Regions from separate parts of the Homo sapiens genome. Here regions 2, 3 and 4 are each linked to region 1. Evidence: promoter capture Hi-C in 16 types of primary human blood cells and fetal thymus (Javierre and others, 2016). All regions are on one chromosome and are shown on one strand. Each heading gives the region's core, a stretch centred on a gene start or on the middle of the fragment in contact. The rest is flanking DNA. Distances are from core to core; before and after follow the strand shown. Region 1 holds the start of LHFPL6 (LHFPL tetraspan subfamily member 6). Region 2 has its middle 73 kb from the start of NHLRC3. Region 3 has its middle 130 kb from the start of NHLRC3. Region 4 has its middle 250 kb from the start of NHLRC3.

The links. The method cuts DNA at HindIII sites, captures the fragments that hold promoters and counts their contacts. A CHiCAGO score of 5 or more calls a contact.
Region 2: a contact is called between a fragment that was not itself captured here and the fragment with the promoter of LHFPL6 in region 1, in 1 of 17 cell types (activated CD4 T cells). The highest score is 5.2, in activated CD4 T cells.
Region 3: a fragment that was not itself captured here is called in contact with the fragment with the promoter of LHFPL6 in region 1 in 2 of 17 cell types (M0 macrophages and erythroblasts); the score reaches 6.1 in M0 macrophages.
Region 4: a fragment that was not itself captured here is called in contact with the fragment with the promoter of LHFPL6 in region 1 in 1 of 17 cell types (M2 macrophages); the score reaches 6.3 in M2 macrophages.

Annotation. Positions count from the first base shown.
Region 1 is chr13:39,600,781-39,606,517 of GRCh38, reverse strand. It overlaps LHFPL6 (LHFPL tetraspan subfamily member 6), which reads left to right and starts at 3,325. Exons shown (of 4, transcript NM_005780.3): 1 at 3,325-3,635; 2 at 5,128-5,686. The coding sequence starts at 5,302. LOC112268119 (protein SPT2 homolog) reads right to left here and starts at 5,194. Exons shown (of 4, transcript XM_035861111.2): 1 at 5,125-5,194; 2 at 3,978-4,068; 3 at 2,876-3,874. The coding sequence starts at 5,194. RefSeq lists a silencer at 3,131-3,430. The HindIII fragment of the contact is 2,884 bases long and covers 2,066-4,949 here.
Region 2 is chr13:39,108,847-39,114,583 of GRCh38, reverse strand. No RefSeq gene overlaps it. Among named protein-coding and RNA genes, the nearest start is that of NHLRC3, 73 kb to the right of the region's middle. The HindIII fragment of the contact is 1,673 bases long and covers 1,666-3,338 here.
Region 3 is chr13:39,167,885-39,173,621 of GRCh38, reverse strand. It overlaps the pseudogene NXT1P1. Among named protein-coding and RNA genes, the nearest start is that of NHLRC3, 130 kb to the right of the region's middle. The HindIII fragment of the contact is 244 bases long and covers 3,052-3,295 here.
Region 4 is chr13:39,289,947-39,295,683 of GRCh38, reverse strand. No RefSeq gene overlaps it. Among named protein-coding and RNA genes, the nearest start is that of NHLRC3, 250 kb to the right of the region's middle. The HindIII fragment of the contact is 5,662 bases long and covers 442-5,737 here.

The sequences.
Region 1 (5,737 bases), core at 2,076-4,575:
GTAGGCTGCATTAGAACAAGGATAGTAATCACGATGATATTGATTTGTTCATTAAATCCCACAATTACTGTTTGATTATTGAGTATCTGTCTACATTGCCAAGCACTGAGATACAATGTTCACTGATGTATATTTCCTCTCATTGAAAATGTCTTATCTATACCATGCTTTATCAATTAGGAATGCTTTTAGCTACTAAAAGGAGAAAATTCAACTCATAGTGATTTAAACCATATTAAAAATCTATAATTTACTTTTTAAATAATTCAAATGGAGGTGAGAAGCTCTACAATGTTAGATCACTGGGAGTATGTCTCTGTGACCCCCCACCTGGTTACAAGAAGGCTGCTAGAGCTCTAAACACCTTCAAGAATGTGCCCGAAGACAGTCATGATGGTGAGAGAACTATTCTCTCACGTCTCCTTATTTTATCAGAGAATACAATCTTCCCCAGAGGCCTCCTTAGCAAACTCATTGGCTACAGCAGGATCAAGTGGCCATTACTTGCTTTAAGGGATGCTAGAAGAGTATCTGGTGAGAAGGGAGAGGGGATTGTGAATTAATACTGGGTAGCCAACCAAGAGTGTTGTCATAAACACTTTATAGCTTTCCATATACTGTCGCATTCATGATCTCATCTTGTGACTCAATGAGACTACTATCCAAACATACTGGAAACCCAAACCTGGAATAGGTGTTATAAGTGGCATCTGCTATGTGGGAACTTCTGGCTGTGAAGTAATTTAATGGTCCTTTAAAGGTACAAATTTAATGCAAAGGGGCTTAAATAAATTATAATGCATTTTGCTTACAAAGTGTGCATGGAAGAACATAAGGAGTAATTCAGAAGATATTATAGTTTAGTAAGATAATTAGAAAGAGAAATCAAGATATGTGGATTATAGCCTCAGCTTTGGGTAAGACACTGGAAGAATTTCGAGCCTCTGTTTTGTCAGCTGTAAAATTACATACTTGAACAAGATTAGATGATCTCTAAATTCCTTCTCAAAGATAAGAGGACCCATATAACCATGATGCTGGAAGTTGTGAGCTTAAAAAAAATTAAAATAACCTATTTCAATCTCTTTTTAACAATGAGATAACTTAGGGCTTGGGAAGATCACCATTTGTCTGAATTCACTTATTTAAGTTAGAAATTTGAGTCCCAGTATTATACTTTCACAAATAATTGATATTGCATCCTGAAAGATTTTTAAAAATTTGGCCTCTTCTGTCATTTTTTTTTTCATTTTAGGCAGAATCTCTGTGATAGCATTTACTCTGCTTAAGAGAGTGCAAATAATGAGATTTTTTTAAAAGTCATTTTTTAGCTGTAAATTTTTGGGCAAATTACTTCTTATCCTTGCGGTAAAATAATAATTATTCCTTCTTCATAATTTTTCTTTTCTTTTTTGAGGACTGGATAAGTAATCTATTAAGGGACCTTAATGTACTAACACACAGCAAGGAGTCAATCTGTAGTAACCATGATTATCATTAATATGTCTCCAGCCAGCACTTGCGCTTAAGCTTTCTCACACTTAAGAAAGTGTTTGAGAGCAATTTCCCCTGCAGGTTGTACGGAGGTGACTCCGATTCTCACTATTATTCTTTTGTCTTTTATGATCATATCTTCCACCATCATATTATATAGGTATGAAGGCTCTGTGTAATAACTAAGGGTGTGGTACCTAACTGGAAGTCAGACCAATCATTCTTATGCTGTCACTGAAACCAGTAACCGGTGATTTGTAAGAGAAGAGTTAAAACAACTTAAACTCAACAACAACACCAAAAACAAAAACACTTAAATTGGGGATTCTGAATATGGGATTCATGGATGGGCTTTAAGGGAATGGGAAACCACCTGATATTTCATTCAAATGATTGACATTTTGGCCCAGGTAATTTTGGGGACTGTCCTGTGCACTGTATTTAGCAGAATCTCGGGTCTTTACCAACTAGATGCCAGTAATACTCCCCATTCATGGGTTATGATAATCAAAATTATCTTCAGACCTTGCCAAATATCCCTTTCCTTCTTCAGAATCGCTGTGGTAAAGCTTTATATGTCCGCGCATTTTTTTTTCTGGAAGGCTTATCAGTTTCATCGTATTTTTTAAAAGACCTGTGACCTCAAAAGGCTTGGAATCAATCACTTAAGGTCTTTCAAAATAATAATAAAAGAACACATATCTCCAGCTGTCGTTGTGGGAAAAATGTACACCATCACGGCTAATTAAAATGGTGCAGTCTGAAAATCTGCTATGAAATATATACCTACCAATTTATTACTTTCAACTCCTCTAAAAAGACACCTCACAAAAACTATATCTGGGAAACTGTCTACTTCAAAAACTGCTGTTCCCAGATGGCATACTTCTTAAAATACTGTGTTCAGCAGAGACTCCCACAGTCATCTACTGAATCTAGCTCTAAACTTCTAAAGGGGTTAGTGCTAATGACAAGTGGAAAAAGTCCTCAAGTCCAGAGGGGAACTAAAAATCAGTTGTTTCTCAGAAAAGAAATCAAACGATGGAATAAATTGCAAAATTGATCAGGAGGCAGGATGGAGGAGAAGGGAGGGAGGAAGTGAAGGGAAAGGGAGGGAGGGAGGGAGAGAGAGACAGAGAAACAGCAAGAGAGAGAGAGAGAGACCTTTGAAAGAGTGTATCTCTTGGGAGAGGCTCGCTAGAGGTCCGCCCCTGCCTTCTCCCTGGCTCGTCTGGAAAGGCAGCTGCCCCCATGCCATACATGAGCCTTGGGCTGTCTGCTGTGCTTTAATTCCCACGTCCACAACCGCCTCATTCACCGCCTTCCAAAGTGACCACTTCTCAAAAGCCTCCTCAAATCTCAAAGGGGCCACTTTACCCACTCTTTAAGGCCCTCTTTCCCGTCTACGGCTTCTTTTAACGGCGGCAGGAAAACAGGAGCATAAACCCGAACAGTAAACCCAGAAAAGCCCCAACAGGCAAAGTGTGTCATCTTCCGTGGCTCCTCGGGGTCACCCAGGAAGACAAGCAACTTTCTCCCATACTTCTCGGTCTGTCTGCCTTCCCCACTCAGCTTTGAATGAGACGCAGGGAGAGGGGGCGCGAGGGGGCTCGGGGCTAGGGGAGGAGCCGCGAAAGCTGCCCCCGGGGGTGGGCCTGGACCCGCGCGGACAGCGGGGCACCCCCCCACTCCCTTCCCGGCGCTCCAGGAACGTCCCCGGTGCGTCCTGGGTCTGTCTGCGCGGAGTTCCCCGGGGCGCGAGGGGAGGGGACTGGAGAAAGAGGAGGGCCGGGCAGCGGAGGGGAGGAGGCGGTGCGTGCCTCGCCTGCCAAAGGGAGATCCGCTCCTCTGCGTGCGATCCCCGGCGCCCGCGCGCGCCCACAGCGCTCCGCCAGAGCTGCCGCCGCGGACTCGCCGGGAGTGGGGGTCTCCGCTGGTGCCAGCCCGCTTCTGGAGACCCTCCGCCTCCTGCCAACCCCTGCTCTTCCAGGTCGGGCCCCGGGGTTCTGCGGCTGTTAGGGACAGAGGCAAAGAAGGGCAGGACGGTCCGGTTTCCCGTGGATGTTCCCGCCCGAGAAAGACAGCAAGTTGTGTGTGCGCCCGGGACGCGGGAGGGAAGGTGGCCGCCGCCCGCCAGCCATGTAAGTAAATCACTCGGCTGCCCCGTGGGCGTGGGCTCCGCTGCTTTCTCCCGGGCTCCCTCTCTGCCCCGGAGCCGGAGTTGGGCTGCTCCCGGGCTCCGGACTTCCTGAGCTCGGCGGATCCGTCGGCTCTGCCTGCCAGCCGCGTCCGCTCTTGGCGTCTGCCTCCGGGGGGTGCTGCCTTCCCATCCTTATCCCCTCCCTTCGTCCAGAGCCGGCTGGAAAATGCCTCTTGCCCCCTTTTAGAATGGAGGGATCATTGTGTGTCTCCATGGGTGGAGTGGCTCGGTGAGGCAATGGCAGGGGGCTAAATATGGGCTTGTCTTGGCGAGGGCGCCTCACCGCAGTTGGAGATGGGGGCCCCCTGCCCGCAGGCCACCCCCTGCTGGTCTTCCCCAGCCTCGTGGCCCAGATAGATCAACTTCAGCCCTGACTGCAGTTGACAAGATTAGAAAAAAAAGTAGTAGCCGACCTCCCGTTTGAGTGACATCCAGAACTGAAAATGGGCGGTGGTTAGAGAAAAAAACGGGTAGGGGCGAGGTGAAGAAAGGGGGAAATTTGCTATGGACCCTGAAAGCTGGAGTTAGGGGTCCTGGGGGTGGAATTCTAGGGTGGATGGGCTCTGTGCTTCTGTATTCATTTCTTTATGGAAAGTGTGAGAAATGGTTAAGGAACTCTTTTTGAAAGGCTGGGGTGGAAGTAGATGCCCCTGGAACCATTTGGATGACTGGGGTTTGATGTAGCATACTGGGAAGTATGGATTGCTGTTCAAATTAGACAATCATTCAGTGGGAGAAATGATTGCAATAGAACTGTTGGAATCAATGAATCAAAACTGCAGACTCAAAATAAGTCATACACAGGCATTCTTTTACACTAGAAGATGTTAAGACTAAAGAAATTCTGAAATGCTGCTGAATGAGTACAAAGAGTGTCTGGTAATAGTTCTGTACTGTGGGTGCCTCCGCAGACCATAATGCTTGTTAAATTTATGGTACTCTGCAATTGTGAAAAATTATCCTAATTAGTTTGTTTGGCTCATGCAGAGAGTTAATGCACCCTTAAAGGGACATAGAAAAGTTGCAACAAACTATGAGCATGAACTTGCAAGCCAAAAAATGGAAATCATGGCATGGTTCATTTTATTTTAATTGTTTATTGCCCAGTGAAAGTGCTACATTACTTTTAATGTGAGTATATAATATATAGAATGAATTCATTGGCCTGTCAAATAAAAATCGGGCGTTTCTTTAAGTAAATAGCTGTCAGAGTTAATTTGGAAATATTTACGGAAGATAAAGACATGAAAAAGCTTTGAGCTGGTTTGACAAAAATCGAGTTATGAAGCTCATAGAGAGAATTAGTTCTTCCCACTTTTAAAGTGTTGAGGCAAGTCTCAATGTTTATTAATTGAAAATTGTAGACTAGCTGAAACAGTGTTATCACTTCTTTTAATGCCTTTAATTTTTAATGTTTCCTGTTGTTTTACCAGGGACCATCATCTTTAGTGCAGAGGATGGAAAGTTGATGCCCAGTAAGACTGAAGATCCATTCTGCATTACGGAACTGTGGATTATCTGTGGGTCCCTGGTGATTTCACACCTTCATTCACTCCTGCAGTCCCTGAACACTTACTTGGGGTCCTCATTGCCCTATCTGGTGAAAGATGGCATCCAGCCTGACTTGTACTGGAGTAATCTGGGCTTTGCTGTCTTTTCTTTGTGCTGCCACCTCCTGCGTGGGGTTCTTTATGCCTTACTGGCTCTGGGGATCACAGCTGGGCAAGCCTGTGTCCTTCGGTACCTTCCGGAGGTGCTCATATCCTGTGCATGATGAGAGTCGGCAGATGATGGTGATGGTGGAGGAATGTGGGCGCTATGCCTCCTTCCAGGGCATCCCCAGCGCAGAATGGAGGATCTGCACCATAGTGACCGGCCTGGGTTGTGGCCTCCTCCTCCTGGTGGCGCTCACTGCCCTCATGGGTTGCTGTGTTTCCGACCTCATCTCCAGGACAGTGGGAAGAGTGGCTGGAGGAATTCAGTTTCTTGGGGGTAAGTGACTTGCTGAGCTTGAGTTGTTTACTGGAATCCCAAAGCAGTATT
Region 2 (5,737 bases), core at 1,253-3,752, 490 kb after region 1:
TGGAAGACAGTGTGGTGATTCCTCAAAAATTTAGAACCAGAAATACCATTTGACCCAGCAATCCCATTACTGGGTATATACCCAAAGGAACATAAATCATTCTATTATAAAGATACATGCATGAGTATGTTCATTGCAGCACTATTCACAATAGCAAAGACATAGAATCAACCCAAATGCCCATCAATTATAGACTGGATAAAGAAAATGTGGTACATATATGCCATGGACTATTATGCAGCCAAAAAAGGAATGAGATCATGTCCTTTGCAGGGACGTGGATGAAGCTGGAAGCCATTATCCTCAGCAAACTAATGCAGGAACAGAAAACCAGACAACACATGTTCTCACTTATAAGTGGGAGTTGAACAACAAGAACACGTGGGCACAGGGAGGGGAACAACACACACTGGGGCCTATTGGGGGAGGGGAGGGGAGGGGAGAGCATTAGAAAAGAGCTAATGGATGCTGGGCTTAATACCTAAGCTGATAGGTCCAGCAAACCACCATGGTATATGTTTACCCATGTAACCAACCTGCACATCCTGCATTTGTACCACAGAACTTAAAAAAATAAAATAAAACAGTAAAAAAGATGATGTAAAAGGTATACATTTAAATGCCCATATCTGCAAAATCCCAGAAATTAGCTACTTTGCAAGGTTTCCCAATTTATAAAGTAAGAAATTTTGACTATGATCTCTAAGGTACTTTCCAGCTCTGTTTTGGTAATATGTTTAATATCAATTCCATTCCAACTGTTTTCTTTCTCGACATACATTAGAATAAAAACAGCAGAATACATGACTCTTTCCTTTATATACTTGTTCAATACATCTTTATTAAGAACATACCATATCCCATGCATTTTTTGAAACACTAAAAATATATTAATGTTCAAAGCTGATGAAGTATCCCACCCTCATGGAGCTTATATTTTAGTGGGAGAAAATACATAAACAAACAAATAAATAAAATATGTAATATATAAGATAAATTCTATCAAGAAAAGGAAAGCAGGAAAGGGATGGAGATTCTATGGGGTAGAAACAATTTTTAATAGGCTCGTTAAAGAAGTTCTCCTTGAGAAAGTAACATTTGAACCATGCGTATAGTTATAGGTATTGTGGGATGATCTGGAAATCCTCAGCTACTTGAAGACTGACATAAGTCAGTAAACATAAAAGTGAGATTTTAGCGACTGTTCACAAGAAAGATCACGGCGGTGAGCCTGTGAGCAGGGGCTGATTTAATGAGAAGCTAAAGAAGCTTCAGTTTCAAAGACCCTCATTTGCATGGGCCCTTTTGAGGACCCCAGGAGAAGCTAGCAATACATTTGCCTGGTATTTTGTGATCTTTTACTTGAAAAGAGCACCCCAAAGTGTATAAAGCTCAGTCCCACAGAATTTGGATCCTCTCCAGCTGTAAATGTCACACAGGGAGAGAGGTGATGGTGTGGCTCATGCCAGGAGCACACAGAATTCAAGGGACTCCCATTGAACCTGCTGATAAATAATTATCCAGCTAGTGGTGGATTGCATTATTGTTCTCTACTCTTTCCTTCTCCCTTTATCTACCACCTTAGTCATAAGACTTTGCAGTTTGCCCTACAAGAGGCAGAGTATATTTCCTTGCCTAGCTGATACTGGATTTAGCCGGGAAGCTTGCTTTGGCCAATTGAATGTTCTGAATGGGATGAAAGCAGTCCATTTAAAACACATCTATAGGCTTGGGGTTGTCCTTTTGTGCTCTTTCCTTTTGTCATGAGAAGAATGTGTCCAGGGTAACCTTCTAGTCTCAGAATGAGTAGCACGTGGAATGTACCTGAACTCAGCCTAAGCCTGAAGCCACGGCCAGCCAAATCCAATCTAGATAAGTTGGACCTCAGCCAACCTGCAAACAAGAGTGAGAAATAAATGCTTATTTTTTAAATACCAACTGGAATTTTGTAGCAAGACTATGTTAACTATGTAGCATAATTGATGGAGTAAGTAATACAGTTTTGTCAGCTTAGGCTAAGTTATGCTGCAGTAACAAGAGATCCCCGTATTCCTCACTCATGTAATAAGCCATTGTGGGTCAGCTGAAACTCTGCCCCTTATTTTCACACAGGGGCCCTATTTGATGGGAAAGCCCCTATCTGGATTTACTGGTCTCCAAGCAGAGGACAAAGAGAGATAGGGAACTATTCACTAGCTCTTAAAATTTCTGCTCAGAAATAACTTACATGACTTCACTCAAATTTTATTGTTCTAAATAAGTTACACAGCTCCACCTGAACAGGGCAGGAATGTGTAATCCTTCTGCAGGAAGCAACACAACAGAGAAAGGGCCCCCAGGAAAACTTTCACTTTGGGAAGAGGCAGTGAATAATTTGAAAAATAATAAAATCTACCATAACAATATACCTTGGACATATGAGTACATATTATGTAGTGAATTGTCTCCATCCCCTGCGCCTATCTTTTAGTTTTTGTCCTGATTGGCTTGAATTATGCTTTAACTCGAATCTTCAAGCCAAAGGGTGTATGTGTGCATTCATGCGAATCTGCACATTATCACACACTCCCCTGGTGGGATGTGTCCACTACTCTTTACAGGACAGCCAAGCAATGATATACAGCTTATAATTTTTCCCCGATATTAATAATATCAACACTGCTCTGCTCTCTAAGCATCAGATTTCCCATGGAAAAGAAATCAGAAATCATTAATTTTCCACATCAAAATGACTGTATAGTGGTGCCATGATGCTATAGAGACCTCATTTTCACCTGTTGCTTTGGAACAGTGAGTCCTAAATGCTTGGATGTCAAAATTGATCCTGCTGGACCTAAATTCCACCCAACCTCCACCTCATGCCACAAAGGCTGAATTTTATGTTTCACCCTAGTATGGAAGAAAATTCTATAATTTCTTTCTTCTGTAATTAAAATCTAAAGAACCAGTTAGTCAAAGCAGTGCATCATTTTTCTTTGGCTTTCTTTTTTTATTTTTATTTTGAGAATGTGAATTTTATTGTTGTGTGTTTCTTTTTGGTATTAGCACTTTATGCAGCAGCCAAGATGGTCACTTTCTGTGAAGGAGATAATGGAGGATAATGCAACCATCCAGCTGCTTGAGCAAGAGACCTGGGCATCTCCAAGAACAATCGATTCTACTTTCCCTATTTTCTTGCTGCTGCCATTGCCTTAGTTCAGGCCCTGGAAATCATTTGCTATATTTAGCCTCCTAGGAGCCTTTCCACTTCTAATCTCTTTCCTCTCTAACCCCCTAAAATAACCAGTGATACTAGAGCTCCTCTCGAGTTTTCTTTTGGTAACTGACCCAAGAAAGCTTTGGATATGTTGTAATCAGACAGAGGAAAGAGATTTGATACAAAAACAAATCATGACCCCAAAATATGAAACTATATCTGATAATTTCACATTTTTGATACCTTGTATCCTTTTGAGGCAGAAAAAGAAAAAAAGTCAAAAGGTATATAGAATCTGTATTGGACTTTTTTAAATCATTGAAACTTAGGGGAGAAAAAGTCATCCACATTTTGGATGGGAGTAGAATGACAGGAGAACTCAAAGTACTTGAGATCTTGATTAAGCGCTTCTGAAAAATAATATGGTCTCATGAATCCCTGGCTCACTTAAATGCATTAAGACTAGCCTGCCCTGAGCAGGAGTGGAGAGGGAATTCTCCAGCCTGACAGGCTGTGAACTTGAGCCGCAGCATCAGCTTTTCCTAGGTTTTCAGCCTGCTGGTCCACCCTGCAGATTTTGGACTTGCCAGCCTCCAGTATAGTGTGAACCAATTCCTTCAAATAAATCTCTTTCTCTCTCTCTACACACACACCCTATTGGTTCTATTTCTCTGAAGAGCCCTGACTAATACAAGGGCTATACCATTTGGCATTCCCAACAATCATGTATGAGAGTGCCTGCTTTCCCAAAGCCCTGTTGATAGCATATCAGTAAGTGTTGAAATTTTTGCCAAACTGATAGGTAATAAATGGTATCTTAACATACCTTTAATCTGCATTTCTCATGAGTGAAATAGAGCATCATTTCATATGTTTAAATATCATTTGTATATCTCTTACACTGAAAAGGCTTTTGAAAAGTTTTGGTAATGAAAAAATACATTTCTTCCTATGGACCACTCTAAATCCCCCTTAGAAAGATAGACTGGGTTCCGATGATAAATATAATCTATTATTTCTGATAAGAATACCCCTTCCTTTATGGAATGCAGGGTGTACATACTCCTTATTTTTTATACATACATTTTATTTTTATTAAGCAAAATTTGATTAGCAACATAATGTATACAGGGAAATTCTCTTTGATAAAATGTGTCCTGATGAGAATCTAGATTTTACAATGGAATTGTAAAAAACCTAGGGGAGAAGAGATGCCTTGTTAGGGCACGTGGACTCCTGACCTGACATTTTTTATTAACCAAGATAGTCGTCACTTTCTTCCTCTCCCTCTTCTTACTTACTCCCTATCCCCCAGGTTCTCCAAAGTTTTCTTTGTGTTGGTTGAATAAAGACAAGTCTGTGCCTTTTTTTCTTCCTGTAGCTAAACACTTTCATTTTAACACAAGCAAGTGTAAATATCTGCTTAAAAGGTGCAAAGTGAATGCATTTCAAGTTAAATCTTCCTCCAAAGTGCTAACTCCCAAGAAAACTAAACTGTAACAGGAACTTTAATATCCTATGTGTACTGCTCACTCCTAAATAATATTCCGTTTTCCCAAACTTGCCAGCAGAAAATGTGTTTAATGCAAATAGAGGTTGAAGTGATCAGCAAGTAGCTAGCTAGCAGTTCCCCGACACCCGACAGTTGCAAACTCGCAGCTTGTGAGATGAAAACACCTTGCAGACATGTTCAATTTTCTTTAGGTTTGAATAAGTTGTATTTATTTTGAAAATTGAGAAGTTTATTGAGCCAGTGCTTTTTGAAAAGGTCCTGGTTTTTCTCCAATATTTTCTTTAAGACATTATAATGGATGCATGCAATGAATGCAAATGTTGTTTTGCATAAGGAAGGTGTAATTTCAACATAAATTCCTAAAAGGTGGACTTCTGGACCAATAAGAATGTACTTTTTTAAAAATCAAAATCTCCTTTTGAGAAAATGAAGCATAAAAACTGCTTGCCAAAGTCCCCACCACACCCTATCACTAAACGTGGTTCACTTCTGCCATTGTTATTATTCATCTGGCATCAGTAGACATTTGAGTTTACCGACATTGCTGCAAAGAGCTAGGTAATTTCTGCTATGCTCATGCTTCTTAGTTCCATTCATGGAAACATCTGTCTGTGCTTGAAATATTCCAAGCTCTTTCAGACCTCTAAGCCCTTATTAATTGTGTTCTCTCTGCTTGGAATAAGCCCCCATCCAGCCTTCTCTCAGGAGAATCCCTGCACCTTCTGTAATTCAATGTCAATTTGTTTGTGATATGTGGCAAAATTGCCTGCTCCCTCCTCTGGGCTCACAACGTAGTTGAAGGCATCTTTGTCATACACAGTTCTCCCCATTCTATATTATGATTATGACTGCATCTCCACGCCCTTGACTGAGGGGTCCTCAAGGGCAATTGTGAGGATCTACATGTCTTTGGATCCCCATCAGCTGTCTGGCACATGGTTAGATGTGATACATGCTTGTTCTGTGAATGGGCAATAAATAGCCTCTGGGTCTTCAAACAATGCAGCACCAAGTAGAGAGAACAATAT
Region 3 (5,737 bases), core at 1,924-4,423, 430 kb after region 1:
TGAGATGCTCATTGCTTTGCAAAATGATTCACTCCTTCATCTGACTCTCCTCAAATTTGTTTACATTACCAGAGCGATCCTTTAAATTATTCTTTTTCCATTAAGAAAGAACTTTAAAAGTAATATATGATCATTATGGATAATTTGGAAAGTACAGAAATAGATACAGAAGACACTAAAAATAAGGCATTAATTCCAGCATGTAAAGAAAAACCATGTTAACGTTTTATGAACTGTCAGTATGTTTCCTTTTATTGGGCTGGGCAAAGATTTTATAGAGAAGATCTCAAAAGCACAGGCAACCAAAGAGAAAATAAACAACTAGAATTTTATCAAACAAAAGTGTCTGCACAGCAAAGGAAACAATTGACATATTGCAGAGACAACCTGCAGACTGGAAGAAAATATTTGCAAACTATTCACATGACAAGGGATTGATATCCATACTATACAAGGAACTCAAACAACTCAACAGTTAAAAAAAAAAAAAATTAAAATAGGCAAATTAGTTGAATGGACATCTCTCCAAAGAAGACATACAAATGGCCAACAGGAATAGGAAAAAATGCTCAACATCACTAATCATCAGGGAAATGTAAATCAAAACCACAATGAGATACCATGTCACCCCAGTCAGAATGGCTGTAGACAAAAGGACAAAAAATTAAAAATGCTGGTGAAGATGTGCAGAAAGGGGAACTCTCACACACTCTTGATATGAATGAAAAATAGTCCAGCCATTATTGAAAATAGTATGGAGGTTCCTCAGAAAACTAAAAATAGAATTACCATATGATCCAGCTAGCCTACTACTGGGTATATATCCAAAGGAAAGGAAATCAGAATATTGAAGATATATCTGCACTCCCGTGTTTATTGCAGCACTAGTCACAATAGCCAAGATATGGAACCAACCTAAGTGTCTATCAACAGACGAATGGATAAAGAAAATATACTCTCTCTATATGCCATGGAATACTATTGATATTCAGCCATAAAAAAGAAGATAATCCTGTTATTTATGGCAATGTGGATGAATTCGGAGGACGTAATGTTAAATGAAATAAGCCAGGCACAAAAAAAAAAAAAAAAACAACTGTGTGGTCTGACTCATATGTAGCTAAAAACATTGATCTCAGAGAGTAAAATAAGAGTCACTAGAGGGTGGGAATGGTAGAAGAAAGGGAGGGCAGCCAGAAATTGGTTAAGGAATACAAAATTATAGCTAGAGAGGAAGAATAAGTTCTAGTGTTCTATACCACTGTAGGGTGACAATTATTAACAATAAATTATTGTATATTTTTAAATAGCTAGAAGAGTGGATTTTGAATGTTCCTCACACAAAACATCATAAATTTTACAGGTGGTGGATATCATTACACATCGTATGCACATATCAAAATATCACTTTGTACCCCATAAATATGCACAATTAATATGTGTCAATTAAAAAGAATAATATAAGCAAAAAATGTGTCCTTTGCCTACTACTGGAATGTTAGTACTTTTCCTAACTGATTTTAAGGCATTTATTAAGAATATTAATCCACGTATTTTATTTGTTACAGATATTACTCTTAGCTTTTACTTCCTTATATTGTCTTTTTTCTTCCCCTTTGGTTAACTCTTTTATAGAAAGATAATATGAAAAGGTATATCATGTCACTTTCTTAGGAATAAACCTTCAGTGGCTTCCCAAGTGACTCAGCATGGCTTTGCCTTCCTTTCCAAGTGCCTAGTTAGACCTGCACATGTATCGTGCTCTAGCCTTTTGCAGCTACATATAATTCTCCTAAAGAGGCCTGCCCGGCTCAGACTGCTTCCTCTCACCAAAATGTCCATCTTGCCCCCTACAACTGGAAAACCGTCATTCATCCTTTGAGACTCAGTCCAAATTGAGTTCCCCCATTCTCTTTCCACAGCATCTTCTGCTTCCTCTATCATCGAAGTTATGACACTGTAATAACTATTTATTTACTCTTCTTTTTCACTGATCTAAAAAAGCAGGGAGTTTTCTTATATCTGTACTCAGAATCAGTACAATATGTGACGTATAGTAGACTTCAATAAGCAACTGCAGAATGAATGAATGAATGAACTAGTAGAGGTATCCAGAAGAAAATGTGATTAATTCTGCCCAGGAGAAATAAAGAAAGGTTTTACAAGAGAGAGTGGTATTTGTAGAAGCTATGGAAAGATGAGTAGAAATGTGTTAAAAAAAATAAAAGAGCAAAGAAAAATTATTTCAAACACAGTCATTAGTCAGAATTTACTATGTAATTTTACACTAAATTGGGAGCATGTGGTAGAAGATTACCTTTGGGTAAATATTTCTAATGCAGATATTTGGGGCCATGGTGCCATTCAGTGATGAGAATAATTTTTTAAAGGGCAGACAACAACAAAAACTACCACCCTCCACAAAAAAATGGAAAACATATTCATACGGGTTAGAGGGTCTCAAGGAATTCACAGGAGGTAGGTTGAAAAGATGAAAGCCTTGACAGCTTGACAGAGTGATCTGACCAAGTTTCTTTCTAATCCTCTTAAACAACCACATGTAGCCTTTCAAGGAAGTAGTTTACTATGGACATCAAAGGAAATTTCTCCTTGAAGCAAGATGAGATGAAGAATCAAGCAAGATTGGAAACTGGCCCAAGATAAATATTTTAAGGCAATATGAAAATATTTGGGACATTTGGGGCAGGATAAAAAGGAATTAATCGGTTGTTGCTGAACTCTTGAAAAGTCAGTAAAGATATTAAAGGAAATCTTCTGGAGGAGCTGATTCTAAAGTGATGTGATAAATGACTCTTGAGCATGCTCAGAGAGCAGCGGTGCATTACCAGGGCAGGAGACTGAATAATTTACAACAATGATTACATATATATGTGTGTGAGCATTCATTAGCTGGCAGAAAATAAAACACATTTGTTTGATCTCTGTTTGATTTAGCGTCAGGGGGTTCCATGATCTGGGATGAATTGATCATGTAAATAATGTATAACCACTGACTACCTCCTTTCACCCAGTCGTAAACATTTCTAAGCTTCCAGTTTTCACGATTTCATCCCCATCCTCTCTAACCCAGAGATATCGTCCCTGTCGCAGGCATTGTGGTGCATCACCCAGGTCCTCTCTACAGGACCCATTCTGGAGTTTGTTCACCCAGCTGCTAGGAGTGTTGGCTCCTGATGGCTAGTCCTGCGCCCTTCTCCGGGGGCTGCCCTCTGGGAGACGCCTCACTCAAGATCATGCCCCTTGCCATGTTGATATAAGGGTCAAAGGCCAAGCTTCCTCTTCTGAATTTAGAACAATTCTCATTAGCCATCTCAGCTGCAGAGAACTTCATGTTATTAACTAAGATTTAATTTGAGTATGTATCGCAGGTCAGCTTCTATCTCTACGCAATTTTTATTCCATCATTTTCTTAAGTGTCTTGTTTCTGAGTGTGATTGCCAATAAACTTTCTGTACACAAATTTTCTTCTCAGACAAAGCTCATCTCCAGGGACTCTGTGTCAAAAGGTGGTCAAGTGGTCCTTGGAAACAGAATTTAAAGTGGGATTTTGGAGCTGTGTCATTCTCTGCCCAGATGACAATGAGGATCCTTTTTCTGGCAGTAGGTGGAGTCCTTATGTCCCTTGGCATGCAACATGCTATAGCTGTGCACTGTCCCGCCTGTACATGGGCACAGCCACCCTGGTCTGGAACGGCAATGCTGTTTCAGGACAAGAATCTTTGAGTGAGTTTTTTGAAATGTTGCCTTCCAGCGAGTTCCAAATCAGCGTGGTAGACTGTCAGCCTGTTCATGATGAAGCCACAATGAGCCAGACCACGGTCCTTGTTGTGATCTGTGGATCAGTGAAGTTTGAAGGGGAACAAACAATGGGACTTCAACCAGAACTTCATCCTGACCGCCCAGGCCTCACCCAGGAATACAGTGTGGAAGATCGCAAGTGACTGCTTCCGTTTCCAGGACTGGGCCAGCTAGTGGGGGTGGCAGAGGTCTCTTTGCTTCATTCAGCCCGAGCTCTGTAGAGAAATGCAAATCTCGACTCTCAAGGATGTGAGGAACACAAGTTCATTTCTGTAGTTGCAAAGACACTGCAGACTCCACTGTGCTGAGGTTGAACTCTTTTTTTTGTTGCTCAAGTTCTAGGAGTCCCTTTCCTGAATATATACTTGTTTGTCATAGTTTCCTTTTCAAAGTAGTCAACTTTTCTATTTTTCTAAAAAAAAAAAAAAAAGATTTTCACTAATGAAGAACTGGGAAGGGATACAAGTGGAAGAGAAGGTGCTAGCTGGTATAATATCTCAAGCATTCGAAAGATACTAGGAAAATAGTAATGATAAAGCCTGCAGAACTGGGTGGCAGTTACTAAGGGCTACTGAGGTGCTGGAGAAAAATGATGGGAAAAATGTTACAGAGCTATCTATTGCTCTGTAACAAACCAACTCAATACTTAGTAGCAACCAAAACATTAATTTTGTTCATAAATCAGCCTCAGGCGGGGTGGCCTAAATGCTAGAATCTGGAATCATGCAAAGTCTTGCTCCCTCACATGTCAGGCAGTTGATGCTAGCTCTCAGCTAGAACACCTACCCATGGCCCTCTCACATGACTGCTTCAATTTATCACACCTCGGTAGCTGAATTTTTAGGGGGAAAAGTCCCAAGAGGGGAAAGAGAGTGACGTGGAAGCTGCATTGCCTTTTATGAATTTGCCTCTGAGATCATGCAGCATTTACTACCAGCGTTATATTTGTTAGGAGTAAGCCACAACAGCTGGCCGAGATGTCAAAATCTGCTGATATGTTTAAACCCATCGGAATGATGAATCACTAATTTAAGGTAAGTTGTAAAAGTCAGAGGGTCCCCTTTATCACATTTTAAAAGACTCTCATCTTCTCTATAGCTAGAGGACAGAACAAAGCTGATGATCAGCCTCAGGAGTCCAGAGAATATTAAATGATCAACCTCAGCAAGTCTGCTATGCCAAGGTCAGAGCCTTAATTAGGAAGGAAGAGGAGGGTGGAATTTGGGTTGAACATCTGGGTCAACGCACTCAGCAACTTTGAAACCCCAGGTCATTCTCTGCACTTTGGGCCTGCAGAAGTGGCCCACTCCTTCCTTTAAATGCTAGCACCAACCTTTTTGATGACAGTGCAAGTGCTGAACCTCCTAAGGGAGGGAAAGGACTATACCCTGAAGAAGCACAGACCACAGGAGCTGGGAGAGTAAGATGGGACTGGGTCCAGGGAGTGCTGATCAAGTCATGTACTGGAGTACTCTTCTGGGGCACAGAATGTAACACCATGGCAGAGATCTCACGAGACAATGCCCATATGTCAGTAGGCTGGCTCTGGAAAGCCTAGGGAAAATGATGGTCCACACTGTATAAAGTAGAAACACTAGCCTGTGTTGTGACTCACGCCTGTAATCCCAGCACTTTGGGAGGCAGAGGTGGATGGATCACCTGAGGTCAGGAGTTAAAGACCAGCCTGGCCAACATGGTGAAACCCCGTCTCTACTAAAAGCACAAAAATTAGCCAGGCATAGTGGTGCATGCCTGTAATCCCAGCAACTTAGGAGGCTGAGGCGGGAGAATTGCTTGAACCTGGGACGCGGAGGTTGCAGTGAGCCGAGATCACGCCACTGCACTCCAGCCATGGCAACAAGAACGAAACTGTCTCAAAAAAAAAAAAAAAAAAAAAAAAAAAAAAAAAAACAAGTAA
Region 4 (5,737 bases), core at 2,023-4,522, 310 kb after region 1:
TACAATTGTGGTGGAAAGTGAAAGGAAAGCCAGGCACATTTTACATGGCAGCAGGAGGTGGGGTGGGAGAGTGCCAGACACTTCTCAAACAACCAGATCTTGTGAGAACTCACTCACTGTTATGAGAACAGCATGAGAGAAACTGTCCCCATGTTTCAATCACCTCCCACCTTGTTCCTCCCTCAACTCATGGGGATTACAATTCAGATTACAATTGGAGATGAGATTTGGGTGGGGACACAACCAAACCATATCAGGGAGCTTCACAGTAAACTGGAAAAATATCCCTGCATTCTTAGTGGTAATAAATGGAGTATGTTTGCTTTTCATTCACCAAAAACTAAAGATCAATGGCAGTGGCTTGCTGCCACTCTCTATGGCTATGAAACACATATATTGTGGAGGTTTGAAAGTAGGCTGTGGTGGACAGAATAACAAGCTTCCAAAGATGTCCATGCCCTAATCCCTGGGACCATTGAATATGTTCCCATAGTTGGAAAAAGACTTTGCCTGTGAGGTGAAGTTTGTGATCACTTGGGCCCTTAGAAGAGGAAGAAGGAAGTGGCAGTCAGAGAGATACGCTAATGGAAGAGAAGGCAGAAGAGGCATGGCAGCCTGAGGAGGACTTGACCTGCACCTGTGGGCTTTGATGATGGAGGAAGGGGACCATGAGCCTTGGAATATTGGCAGGTCTAGTGTCTGAGAATGCCCTGGTCCACAGTCCACAGCCAACAAGAAAATGTGGACGTGGGTCATAGCCCTGCTGCTGCCTTAATTTTGGCCCTGTGAGACTCTACACAGATGCCCAGTTGAGCCCTGCAGTTCTGGGACTTCTGCCTACAGAAACTGCGATGATAAATTAGTTTTGTTTTAAGCCACTAAACTGTGGTGATTTATTATGGCACCAAAGCAAATGACTACAGAGGGATGTCACAGAGGTGGTTCACTTACCTGGCACCCAATCCACATCTGCATGTTTCAACTCATGCACAGATACCTGGTGCAATCCTTTGATGATGGGTTATCAGGACTTATTTCAACTTCAAAGTCGGGATTGGGAATCAAAACAGCATATGCCCATCCCCAAAAAACAGTGGTTTGGGGTCACTTTGATTAGAAGAGAGCAGTATAAATGTAGGCTTGTGAGACATCAATGACTCTTTGACGCTGGACAGTTGAGAAGTCTTTCATCATCCTTTTAGGTCTGACATTACTTTCTCTGTGTTCAGCCATTCAGCCACTCAACAAACATATTGAGGGCTGTCAAGCATTGCCTGGCACTTGTACGTATCTTGTTATAATTGTAATGATTTATTTTCATGCTCGTTTCCATCTCCAACTCCTACTACATTACTGGCACATAGTGGAACTTCATAATTGGCTATAAACAAATGGACTCCAGTAATTAATTTGTCCTAATTAATTACTGACAGTGAATATGATTATTTTGACCCAAAGTAAAATACTGTCATGTCCTTCTTCCCTAAACTATTGTACAAAAGCCTTTCCATTTCTTCTAATTCTGTTATGGCCTCTTACTCTAAAATAAGAGGAACATATTCAAGTTATTAGAGTGGCAAATCATAATTTAAATTTCCCTTGGTTTTCATTTGTGTCATCTCTCTATTATTGTGACGATAGCCCTCTAATCCTTGTTTGTGTGATTCAATATAAAATATTCGGAGAGTATCACAGAGAAGGCTGTCTCTACTCTCATTTATTAATATAGGCCTAGGCGTGCAATTTAAAACTTGCATGTTCATGTTTCAGCTGTTCTGTCAATAGATTTTTTAAAAATTGTACATTCCTAGGGGAAAGAATAAGTCACAGTTGCCCATCTCTCATGACATGCATGTGTTGCTATTTTAAATCCTAATAAATTTGTCACTTCTGGACAGTGCTGTGCTATCTTGACCTTGCTCAGTCAGGCTTGTTGGTGAAAAGCAAATCATTTGAAAAGGCTGTGCCAATTCATTAGTTGTTGCATTTTCTATTTTTTTTTTTTGCAACATCAACTCTGAATATTTGATCATTTTTGTAATGAAACACCTTAACATTTTCTTGACTTTCTCATTCTTACTACTTTCATTAGCCCTGGAGTTCTTAAACAAACTATCATACTCCCTCCCAGAAGTTACAGTTTCAACATGCTCCTTGTACTGAATTTTACAGTAAGCACAAGTTCAAAGCACATTTCCAAAGAATATTCTTTTGTTAATTTTTTGAACACAGGGCTTGAGAAAATACCTGAAGTTTGAGATACATGTTAAAAACAAATTTTACATAAGCCTATATTTAGATGGCTGGTTATTTCTCATCCAAAGAGTTCCTTTACAGGAGAAAGATTTAAAATTTACAATTTTTTCATGCAGTTTCCTCTGAGCATTTGGATGGGCATCCAAAGGAGCACTGGGCAATTTCTTTTAAAGACTTTAAAACAAAAATGGCATTGAGAGATCCTCTGTGTTGAACAGTGAAAGTGTACACATGCGATTTTCAGCCTTTACAAAACTCACTTTCATGGAAAGAGAGAGAAATCAAGTACTATAATGAAATCAAGTTTATCATAAAACAAAGGCTACTTCTATTCTTACAGATGACAGTATACTTCTACATTTGCCCCACTGTGTGTTCACTCTTCTGGAGTCATCCATTATTATGTCAAGTATGGCCCACTAGTTATGCAACAATTTCATTGCTATTATCTCAATCCACACAAGAACTTGGGAAAAGATGAAAAGGGATCACGATGAAAAAGTATTTTCAGTCTTCTGATGAAAGGCTACAAACCATTATTTCCCACTTACGTCTTTCTAGCCCCCTGGCTTTAATGGAAACCCAGATAATAATAATAATTATTATTGTTATTGTTATTTTAACTTTTAGGCTCATGGGTACATGTGCAGGTTTATTATACAAGTAAATTATGTGTCATGGGATGTTGGTGTACAGATTATTTTGTCACCCAGGTAATAAGCATAGTAACTGATATGTAGTTTTTTGATCCTCTCTTTCCTCCCAGCCTCCACCCTCAAGTAGGCCCTGGTGTCTATGGTTCCCTTCTTCGTGTTCTTGTGTACTCAGTGTTTAGCTCCCACTTATAAGTGAGGACATGAAATATTTGGTTTTCTGATCCTACATTAGTTTTCTTAGGATAATGGCCTCCAGCTCCATCCATGTTACTGCAAAGGACATGATCTCACTTTTTTGTGGCTGTGTAGTATTCCGTGGTGTATACGTACCACATTTTCTTTATCCAGTCTACCACTGTTGGACATTTAGCTTGATTCCATGTCTTTGCTATTGTGAATAATCATGTGATGAACATACATGTGCATGTGTCTTTTTGGTAGAATGGTTTATATTCTTTCAGGTATATGCCTAGTAATGGGATTTCTGGGTCAAATGGTAATCAAGATTATTTTTCCTCATCTGATGAAAAAGGTGTTTTGCAGGATGAGCCAGGTAGCTTGTGACAGAAGTGTGGAGTCCCCAAATGGGCACCAAGGAAGAGTAAAATGCATTCAATTGATTGCACCCTTAGAGCTTTGAAAATTGCTCCATGGCTGCCTGATCTACCAGTGAAACATCTATTTTAGAATACCGGATAGGTTGCACATAAAAACATCTTCCTTTGTTCTTCAAGTCTATGAGGTCTTCCTCATTTATTCTTTTCCAGAAAGCCAGTTATTCTGCCTTTTAATTTATTGGATCACTCTGCATCATTTCCTTCCATAGCAGGAGAACTTTCAGAGGCGAATCCATGAAAGAACAGATCCCTTTGGTATTGGATTCTGTGGAAATTTTCCTTTTACTGTTAACTTTTTTTTCCCACGAAATGATAAAGAACACTTTGAAATGTTTTTATAAAGGCAAACTCCAAGACATTTTTTTTTCTGTTTCAAACCATTTAAGGTGGAGAAACCTATTATGTATATATATAAGAAACACATAATTTGCACATTAGTGTTATGTTAGTGTTTCTCAATCTTTTTGAGTTTTTGGATGGCATGCTTCAATGATTTGTGAAGTTAGGCCAGAATAGTGGTGGCACAACAAAGAAATTTCTCACTGAATGTCTGTTCTCTTTGACTACTCTTTTTTCCTCCATCCAAGGATCTCTTAACTCATTAAATAAATGGGATTTTTTTTTGAAAAAACAAAACCCCAAACAAACCAACTGGTAAGTAAATTAATATGATTTCATCCAGAGACTCTTAGTAGAACTTTTGCTATAAATAACCATATGGGGCATCTGCATAAATGTGGGGCTAGTCAACCAACTTCTTGCAAGCCGTGTAGAGGATAGGCTTTCAATCTGTCTGGAAGAAAACAGAATTGAGTGTTCTCAACCAGATGCATTGCGTTGGTGACAATTTGTGAAGTGTAAAGTTTTCTGAAAACACAATGTCTCACTGTAACCCTAATGGGTCTGTTGCTCAAAGTACACAGCAAGTTAATATGCCAAGACACCAGGTTGCAGCAGAGAAAGAGGTTTAATTGTAGGGCTGCCCAACGAGGAGACAGGAGGAAACCTCAAATAAACCTGTCTCCCCGAGGAGTCTGGAGGTAGGGTTTTTAAGGGTTTTGGAGTGGGCTGAAGGGTGAAGACCATTGAGTGGTAGAAGAGCGTAGGGTGAAGTGATGGGACAGGGAGACAAGAAGCTGTATTCTCATGCTGATTCTATTCCTCTGTGGGGGTCTTCCAACTGGTTTGTGTCAACTGTTTTGCTGTAATTTGGGATCTGAAAATCATCTTAAGCAATTCTTAAGCAAAAGCCTTATGATTCTAAAGTCCGAAATCTCATCTACAGGAAAAATGGGGATGCAAATGGTGAATAGCTAGTGCAATGTGACTTTCAGTTACAAGGAAGTGGATCAAAGTGCAGCCTGATTAATGCTAAATTATAACTATATTTCTGTCCAGAATGCTTGTTAACCCTGTGAGGATTGCTTCATCGCCATTGGCTCATCATTTCAAACTTGGCCATTTGAAAGACTACTGGAATTATTTAAGGTGCATTTCTCACCAATACAATTGGCAATTATTCAGAGATAAATATCTGATAAAAAAGAATCAATTATTTTGTGAGGGCAATACTTATTACATTATGCAACCAAATGATCTGTTTCTATACCAGCATGTTGCTGACTTTTAGATGATATATTATGGGATAGCTTTGTAATTGGAGTTGATGGTGAATTTCTCCAAAGTCATGTCTTGGTGGAAGAAAATAAATTGTTTATAACTGTCCAGTAAAAGGAACCCAAATAACAGAGCTATTTTACAACACGGCTCAAAATTCAAGAAACATCTTCTTTGTTTTTTAAACCTTTATTTTAGGTTTAGGGATACATGTGCAGGTTTGTTATTTAGGTAAACTCATGTCATGGGGGTTTGTTCTACAGATTATTTCTCCACCCAGGTACTAAGCCTAGTACTCAACAGTTATTTTTTTTTGGATCATCTTCTTTCTCCTACCCTCTACCTTCAAGTAGGCCCCAGTGACTGTTGCTCTCCTCTTTGTGTCCATGAGTTGTAATCATTTAGCTTCCACTCATAAACGAGAACATGCAGTATTTGATTTTCTGTTCCTGCATTAGTTTGCTAAGGATAATGGCCTCCAGCTCCATCCATGCTTCTGCAAAATACATGATATCATTCTTTTTTATGGGTGTATAGTATTTCATGGTGTATATATACCACATTTTCTCTGTCCAGTCTACCATCGATAGA